Regions from separate parts of the Homo sapiens genome. Here all the other regions are linked to region 3. Evidence: promoter capture Hi-C in 16 types of primary human blood cells and fetal thymus (Javierre and others, 2016). All regions are on one chromosome and are shown on one strand. The core of a region is centred on a gene start or on the middle of the fragment in contact, and the rest is flanking DNA. Distances in the headings are between cores, read along the strand shown.

Region 1 (2,700 bases), core at 120-2,619, 290 kb after region 3:
ATCACGAGGTCAGAAGATCGAGACCATCCTGGCTAACACAGTGAAACCCCGTCTCCACTAAAAATACAAAAAATTAGGCAGGCGCCTGTAGTCCTAGCTACTCGGAAGGCTGAGGCAGGAGAATAGCATGAACCCGGGAGGTGGAGCTTGCAGTGAGCTGAGATCACGCAACTGAACTCCAGCCTGGGTGACAGAGCGTGATTCCGTCTCAAAAAAAAAAAAAAAGAAAAAGAAAAAAAAGAAATGAGGTCTCACTATGTTGCCCAGGCTGATCTACCCACCTCGGCCTCCCAAAGTGCTGGGATTACAGGCGTGAACCACTGTGTCCGGCCATTTTTCTTCTTCTTCTTCTTTTTTTTTTTTTTGAGACGGACTCTTGCTCTGTCGCCAGGCTGGAGTGCAGTGGCGCGATCTTGGCTCACTGCAACCTCCGCCTCTTGGGTTCAAGCAATTCTCCTGCCTCAACCTCTGGAGTAGCTGGGATTACAGGCACTTGCCACCATGCCCAGCTAATTTTTGTATTTTTAGTAGAGATGGGGTTTCATCGTGTTGGCCATGATGGTCTCGATCTCCTGACCTCGTGATCTGCCCACCTCGGCCTCCCAAAATACTGAGATTACAGGCATGAGCCACCACGCCCAGCCATTTTTCTATTTTTTGTAGAGACAGGGGTCTCCCTATGTTGCTCAGGCTGGTCTTGAACTCCTGGGCTCAAGCAATCCTCCTGCCTCAGCCCCCAAAGTGCTTGCTGGGATTTCAGGCATGAGCCACCACACCCAGATATTTAGGCTTCTTTATTTTTTATTTATTTTTATTTTTTGAGACTGAGTTTTGCTCTTATTGCCCAGGCTGGAGTGCAGTGGTGCGATATCGGCTCAACTGGGTTCAAGTGATTCTCCTGCCTCAGCCACCTGAGTAGCTGGGATTACAGGTGCACGCCACCACACCCAGCTAATTTTTGTACTTTTAGTAGAGATGGGGTTTTGGCATATTGGCCAGGCTGGTCTCGAATTTCTGGCTTCAGGCCATCTGCCCATCTCAGCCTCCCAAAGTGTTGGGATTACAGGTGTGAGCCACCATGCTGGCCTAGGCTTCTTTAATCTGGGGCAATTCCTCATCTTTTTCATCTTTCATGACATTTTTTCAGAGTAGGACTCCCCCACACATTTTTCCTTTTAATCGAATGCACCTTATTTGAGGTTTGTCTGGTATTTCCTTATGGATAGATTCAGGCTATGTCTCCCTGGTGCAAATATAAGCAATATTATATTGTTTGGGTGGAGTTCTCTCCACTTTAAGGGATTCATGGAACTTCTGAACCTCTGAGGTTGATTAACCCCTGAGTTGTCTGTCAAAAAAATCAGATTTTCAAAACAAGTTAAGAAGGACATCATGAATTATGCGTGTGTCTTCACTCTGCTGATGGCTGGCTTAGGCTCTGCATTCTCTCTCTCCCTCTTCCCCTCCCGCTACCGAACTTGCCCTTGAAATTTCAGCAGCTGCTGTTGAAAGCATTCTTTTTGAAGGCCACTAGGGACCCCTAATTGCCCAACTCAGTCGCTTTCATAGTCTTCATCCTCTTGACCTCTTCTCAGGGCAACGGACTGGCTCACCCGCCCTTCTCCCTAAAACCACAGAAGGCCGCGCTTGGCTGTCCCAGTCTCTGCCCATTTCCTTCAACAAAAATGACAGAATGCCGGCTGCTCTGGGAGGTACAGAGGTGGATCCACTGTGGAGCCAGCTTTGCAGGTGGTGGCTTGTCAGGAAAATTCTGCAGGTCCTGGTCTTTTTTTCTTTTCTTTTCTTTCTTTTTTTTTTTTTTTTTTGAGACTGAGTCTCACTCTATTGCCCAGGCTGGAGTGCAGTGGCATGATCTCGGCTCACCGTGACCTCCGCCTCCCGGATTCAAGTGATCCTCTTGCCTGAGCCTCCCAGGTAGCTGGGATTACAGGCGCCCACCACCACGCCCAGCTTATTATTGTATTTTTAGTAGAGACAGAGTTTCACCATGTTGGCCAGGCTGGTCTCCAGAACTCCTGACCTCAGCTGATCTAGCCGCCTTGGCCTCCCAAAGTGCTGGGATTACAGGCATGAGCCACCACACCCGGCCTGGTCCTGGTATTTCTTGTATACTCCCCACACCCCAGTGAAGATGTTCTCTCAGCTTTTGTCCTCAGATGGGGTGCCTGGAATTGGTCTTTCCCCTGGAGGAGCCCCACCTTCTAGTGGTTTCAACTTTGCCTCTCCTTCAACAACCCAGGAGGGCAGCCCTGAGTCTCTGACCCTGACTCAGTGGATGTCCAGGCAGAATTATGTCAGGAATGGATCTGGGCTTAGTGTTTCTTCCTCAGCAGCCCCTAGGGCAAACAGACCTCCCCTCATACTCCTTTCCCAGGCCGTGAGCTCTTTTTAGGCAGGTTGGGGTCTAATTCTTCTCTATCCCTCGGCACTGGGCATGCAGTTGGCCCTCCATCAATATTTATGGAATAATGGCCAGGCGCAGTGGCTCATGCCTATAATCCCAGCACTTTGGGAGGCTGAGGCGGGAGGATTACTTGAGGTCAGGAGTTCAAGACCAGCCTGGTCAACATGGCAAAACCCAGTCTCTACTAAAAATACAAAAATTAGCTCGGTGTGGTGGCGCATGCCTGTAATTCCAGCTACTTGGGAGACTGAGGTAGGAGAATCATTTGAACCTGG
Region 2 (2,500 bases), core at 1-2,500, 330 kb after region 3:
GGCGTACCTGGACAATATTTTTGATGTGGGGGCGCTGCTGGAGGACACAGAGACCAAGAACGCTGTGCTGGAGCACATGGAGGAACTGCAGGAGCAAGTGGCGCTGGTGAGAGTGGGTCCTGACCCCAGCCCAGCACATCATAGGCCCACAGGGCACACGGGCCACAGGGCCACGCAAGCATGGGCACTGGGCAGCAGACAGTGTTATAATTGTGCATTGGAGGTGCTGCCTGCCTGGCCCCAGAGCCTGGCCTGAATCCAAAGCCTGAATCTGTTGGGTGTCTTTCTCAATGAGTGTGGGTGAGCACCCTCACTGACAGGCCCCTCCTCTACCCAGGCTCAGACCCCAGGTGAACTGAAATGGGTGCCTGGGGCCCCTCCCAGCTCAGTCTCCTCCTCTCCCTCCACCTCCCGCATCACTGGTACCTTGGTTTCCTCTCCTTATTTGCTTGGGTTCGAGTGCCAGGCTCGGCCCACCCTTGGCACCTGGGCTGAGCGGATCTGGGAGCCTCCCCCAGTCTTCCAGGCAGGCATGCCTGATGCCGCCCCCTCACCGGCGGTGCCAGTGCCGGGCTGCGGGTCGGGGCTCACCATGTGCTGGTGCTACAGCTGACAGAGCGGCTTCGGGACGCGGAGAACGAATCCATGGCCAAGATTGCAGAACTGGAAAAACAGCTAAGCCAGGCGCGCAAGGAGTTGGAGACCCTGCGGGTGAGGCTGGGGCGGGTGGTAGGCCAGGCGCCCAAGAACAGGCCAGCTGAGGCTTCTAGGCTTGACATCTCCCTCCACCCCGGGAAGAAGATGGAGGCTTGGTGCCAAGGAGCCTGCTGGTGGGCACTGACCCCTCCCGTGGGGTTCGTAGGAGCGCTTCAGCGAATCGACCGCCATGGGGCCCTCCAGGCGTCCCCCAGAGCCTGAGAAAGCGCCTCCCGCTGCCCCGACGCGGCCCTCGGCCCTGGAGCTGAAGGTGGAGGAGCTGGAGGAGAAGGGGTTAATCCGTATTCTGCGGGGGCCGGGGGATGCTGTCTCCATCGAGATCCTCCCCGTCGCTGTGGCAACTCCGAGCGGCGGTGATGCTCCGACTCCGGGGGTGCCGACCGGCTCCCCCAGCCCAGGTGCGCAGGAGCTTCAGGCTGGCGGGGATGCGGGGCAGGGTCTGGAGGGGAGCCCAGGGGCATCTGTGGCGGGCAGAGTTGGGCGAGGGAGGTTTGGATTGTAGGCTCGGCTCAGGTAGGAGCGCATGCGTAGAGCGGAGAGGCGGAGAGGGGCCCACCCAAGTCAAGGAGCTGACTCGCGCCTCCCCCACGCCGCGCCCTCGCTGGCTCAGATCTCGCACCTGCAGCAGAGCCGGCTCCCGGAGCAGCGCCACCGCCGCCGCCCCCACTGCCCGGCCTCCCCTCCCCGCAGGAAGCCCCGCCCTCTGCGCCCCCACAGGCCCCGCCTCTCCCTGGCAGCCCGGAGCCCCCGCCTGCGCCGCCGCTGCCCGGAGACCTGCCGCCCCCACCCCCGCCACCGCCACCACCTCCGGGCACTGACGGGCCGGTGCCTCCGCCGCCGCCGCCGCCGCCGCCGCCTCCCGGAGGTCCTCCTGATGCCCTAGGAAGACGCGACTCAGAATTGGGCCCAGGTGAGTGGAGTGGACCACCTTGGGCCCGGGGCTGGGGGGAGATGGAGGGAGGGGCCTGGGCCTCAGTGTCCTCCAGGGTCCTCTGCCTGGGGGCCTCCTGCTGCCTCCTGGCTGCCCCATCAGCCCTCCCTGGGCCCAGGTTCCCTCCAGTAGTACCCCCAGTGCTCACCACTGCCCCCAAACCCCCGTCCCAGGAGTGAAGGCCAAGAAGCCCATCCAGACTAAGTTCCGAATGCCACTCTTGAACTGGGTGGCACTGAAACCCAGCCAGATCACCGGCACTGTCTTCACAGAGCTCAATGATGAGAAGGTGCTGCAGGTGAGTGGCCCTGCCTGGCTCCCCATGTGGGCACCGGAGGAAGAGGGGAGTTGCCTGGATCAGGCTGGGCCCTGGGGGTAGTCATTTTCTCCAAGCCATTTCACAGATGAGGAGGGGGAGGCCCAGGGATGGGCATTAAGCCAGACTGGACCAATACCTCTAACAGGCAGAATCCTGCTTTCCCAAACGCCTTCCCCTCCATCCCTGCAGAGGGGTGCCTCCCCTCACCCCACTTCTTCTGCCTCCAGGCCTCTTTCCTTCCACTTTCCCACAGGCAGCCAAGGCTTCAGCCCTCCTGATTCCACTTCCAGTTTTCCAAAAGGATGTATTCTCTTGCCTCTAGGCCATTGTTCCATTCTGTTTCCTCTGCCTGGAATGTCTTTTCCTTTCTCCTTTTTACCGCTGGCCAGTTCAGCTCTTCCTTTAGCTCTTGTGGCCCCAAGTCTGGATCCCCCGGGTTAGGCGGCCCTCCTCCTCCAGGCTCCCTGTGCTTCCCCTGTGCCTCCCATCAGGGCCTGTGGTCAGGCTGGGTTACTGGTTCTCTGCTGGTGGCC
Region 3 (2,930 bases), core at 1-2,500:
CTGGAGGATGAGCAGATGTGGGCTTTTGCCTTAACTCATTACTAAGGTGCCTTATCAGGGTTGGTGCACCTGCTTCTGCTCACACAGGCGCATCCACAAGCATACACTCACTGTTGCACACACACACACACACACGCACATGTCCTCCTGCACTTGAAGGCACACATGCATGTCCTGTCAGCTCAGTGAAGCGCCATGCCCCTGGGGATTCCTCTGATCCCAGGTAACCACCTTTTGAAATGAATTTTATTATGACCACCGCTTCACAGCTGTGCAAGTCAAAGTAACTTGATGGGGGTCACAAGCTGGTGGCAGGCAGTCACCTGTGCTTTGCGCCCAGACCTGCCTGCTCTTTCCCTCACTTTCTTCACCCCAGAATCCAATCTCCCTCATGGACATCAACCTTCTCCGCTTCCAACTCCTCCTTTATATGGACACAGGCTCAGAATAGGTGAGCTCGCTGCCCACAGTCACAAAGCCCAGCCATGAATGAAACACAGGGGCCCCGCTGCTCCTGCACTGCTTTCCCCAGTAGGGAGGTGCTGAGGGGACCCTGGACTCCTGGCAGAAGGCATGCGGGCATCAGATCCCCGGGGCCCTGGGCCTGTTTCTGGTCCCTCCCATCATGTTGGGGGGCAAGGATAGTGCCCCATCAAGAGGTAGGGAGGCCCAGGGAGCAGGGAGGTTCGGCCCCTCCCTGAGACTTCTCGGGCACTCCTTCTTGGGGATTCAGCCCCTTCTGCTCACAAGGCCCCCCTTCCCCATCCCCTCCTCACTTCTGCCTCACAGTGGCCAGGTCCTGTGCCAGATTGTCCCTCTCAACCTCCAGCCGGGCGCTGTTGGCGGTGAGTTGATCGAGCCGCAGCCGCAGCTCTCGCAGCTCAGCCTGGTAGACGTCTGCCAGCTTGGTGGGCTCCTTGGCCCGCAGCTGGTTCAGCTCAGCAGCCAGCGCCTTGTTTTGCTGTTCCAGGAAGCGAACCTTCTCGATGTAGCTGGCAAAGCGGTCATTGAGCTCCATCATCTCTGCCCGCTCACTGGCCCGGGTCTCCTTGAAGCCAGCATTGAGTGCCCCAGCCAGGGAGAAATCCACCCGGGTCGGGAGTGGAGGGGGCATTCGAGCCAGGGAGAGGCGGGTGCCAGGACCCAGACGGCGGCCAGGAGCCAGGCCCCCCACCATCATCTCCCCTGAGGAGACGTAGGAGCGGCGAGCAGCGGAGGTGATGCGTCTCCTCTCCATCCTGCTCTGGCTCTGCTCGCTCCTGGGATGCGAGGGCTTTATGAAGGAGTGGGCTAGACTGGCGATGCCCGGGTGCCCCTGGCAACACCCCCTGGCATAGCCTGAGGGGGTGGGGTTGGGCCGCAGCCCAGCTATGGGGAGAGCTCCCCTCACCCCACTGAGGTCACTGTGCCCAGAGGCAGAGCTTCCTGGGCACGCCAACTCCTGCATGAGGCAGGTGGTACCTGGAGCCAGACCATGGGTCTGGGGCCCTGACCGCTGAAGCAAGAGGACCCTCTCTCTAGGAAGGTGGGTCAAGAAAGGGTTGGTTGGACCATGATGAATACTTACAATTATTATGCATCAATTAAAAAGGAAGGAAAGGGCTGAGTGGGGTGGCTCATGCTTGTAATCCCAGCACTTTGGGAGGCTGAGGCTGGAGGATTGCTTGAGCCCAGTAGGTTGAGGCTGCAGTGAGCTGTGTTTGCGCCACTCCAGCCTGGGCAACAGAGAGAGACCTTGTCTCACAAAAAAAAAAAAAAAAAAGGGAAGGAAGGGCTGTACCAGATGACCTCTGACCTGCTTTCCAACTTTTTGATTTCATAACCCAGGCATTATCTCACTCAGCTGTAAGTGCCTGCAAGGTGCTGGGAATTTGGCGAAGAATGAACCTGTTCTGTACCCTCAAGGGCCACCTCATTTCCTACTAGGCCTCATTCCCAGCAGACTCCTGGAGTCCTTCCCTTGAACACAGATGTCCCACATTCCTGCTCTCTGCCCATTCATTCCCTGGAGTTCTGGGGCTGGGGGCTGGGATTGGACACCAGCCCTTTGTCTAAGGGTCAATCATGGCCTCTATGTGGCAGTGGAGGTCCTGATAGGGCAAGAGGGGGCCGGCACTCTCTTGCCTTATCAGGACTTTAGCCCCTGGATCTGTCCCTCCAGGTCACCCCTTCCTTGTCTGGCCTCCCTGTGCCTCTCTCCCAGAGACCAGGCCTTGACAGCTCCACAAAGCCGTTACACATGAGCTGGCTGTGCTGGCTCGTCTTTATTCCTGCAGCGCCCCGTTTCCCTGGCCACCCCTCCGTCTCCCACTGGAGATTTATTTCCTCGAGTTCCCACACATCAGCCTGGAGAGATGGGAAGAACCTCTGGGGATGGATGGGTTTGGAAACGCTGGAGCCACTGGGCCCAACTAGGAGCCTGAGACCTGGGCCCTGTTGTCCCTGGAGACTTCAGGTCCATCTACGCCCTCCACTCTGGTCCCACAGGGTCAGAACCCTGCCCAGTCCCCTCACCCATTTGTGTCCTTGGACTTCTGGGAAGCAGACAGCCCTCCTCTCCCCCCCTGCCACCCACTGTCCATGCCTGGGCATCCCCTGATCCCCTTTCCTGGGCACAGGCTGAATAGAGCCTTGTTCTCCACCGCCGGTGGCGCCACACAGCAAGGGCAGCCCCTAGGGGGCTGTGCTGCTTTTATCCCAAGATGCCAGGCTGTCAGGCTGGGGTGCAATGCAAGCCCCCTGCTCAATGGGCTTCTCGGAAGGCATTTGAGGGGGGCTGGGGTGCGGCGGGAAGCAGGCACTGTGCCCACCCCGAACATTGTGTCTGTGCCAAGGTGAGTCATTCACTGGGCATGAAGAGGAGGCCCTGGGGGGCGGCCAGCCCAATGCTGCCAGGTCTGCTTGCAGACAAGGCCTGGCTGTCTGCCTCC

Evidence for each region. Contacts are between HindIII fragments. The CHiCAGO score rates a contact against its expected background, and 5 or more counts as called.
Region 1: a contact is called between a fragment that was not itself captured here and the fragment with the promoter of GFAP in region 3, in 2 of 17 cell types (endothelial precursors and naive CD4 T cells). The highest score is 7.2, in endothelial precursors.
Region 2: a contact is called between the fragment with the promoter of FMNL1-AS1 here and the fragment with the promoter of GFAP in region 3, in 1 of 17 cell types (monocytes). The highest score is 5.9, in monocytes.

What each region holds. Positions count from the first base shown.
Region 1 is chr17:45,199,309-45,202,008 of GRCh38, forward strand. All of the region lies in intron 2 of FMNL1-DT (FMNL1 divergent transcript), which reads right to left. Among named protein-coding and RNA genes, the nearest start is that of FMNL1-DT, 21 kb to the right of the region's middle. The HindIII fragment of the contact is 4,769 bases long and covers 1-2,700 here.
Region 2 is chr17:45,240,520-45,243,019 of GRCh38, forward strand. It overlaps FMNL1-AS1 (FMNL1 antisense RNA 1), which reads right to left and starts at 1,251. Exons shown (of 3, transcript NR_186808.1): 1 at 592-1,251; 2 at 1-85. It overlaps FMNL1 (formin like 1), which reads left to right. Exons shown (of 27, transcript NM_005892.4): 12 at 1-106; 13 at 610-711; 14 at 863-1,115; 15 at 1,328-1,627; 16 at 1,822-1,946. RefSeq lists an enhancer at 643-1,361. The HindIII fragment of the contact is 17,531 bases long and covers 1-2,500 here.
Region 3 is chr17:44,914,250-44,917,179 of GRCh38, forward strand. It overlaps GFAP (glial fibrillary acidic protein), which reads right to left and starts at 1,251. Exons shown (of 9, transcript NM_002055.5): 1 at 777-1,251. The coding sequence starts at 1,237. The HindIII fragment of the contact is 16,653 bases long and covers 1-2,930 here.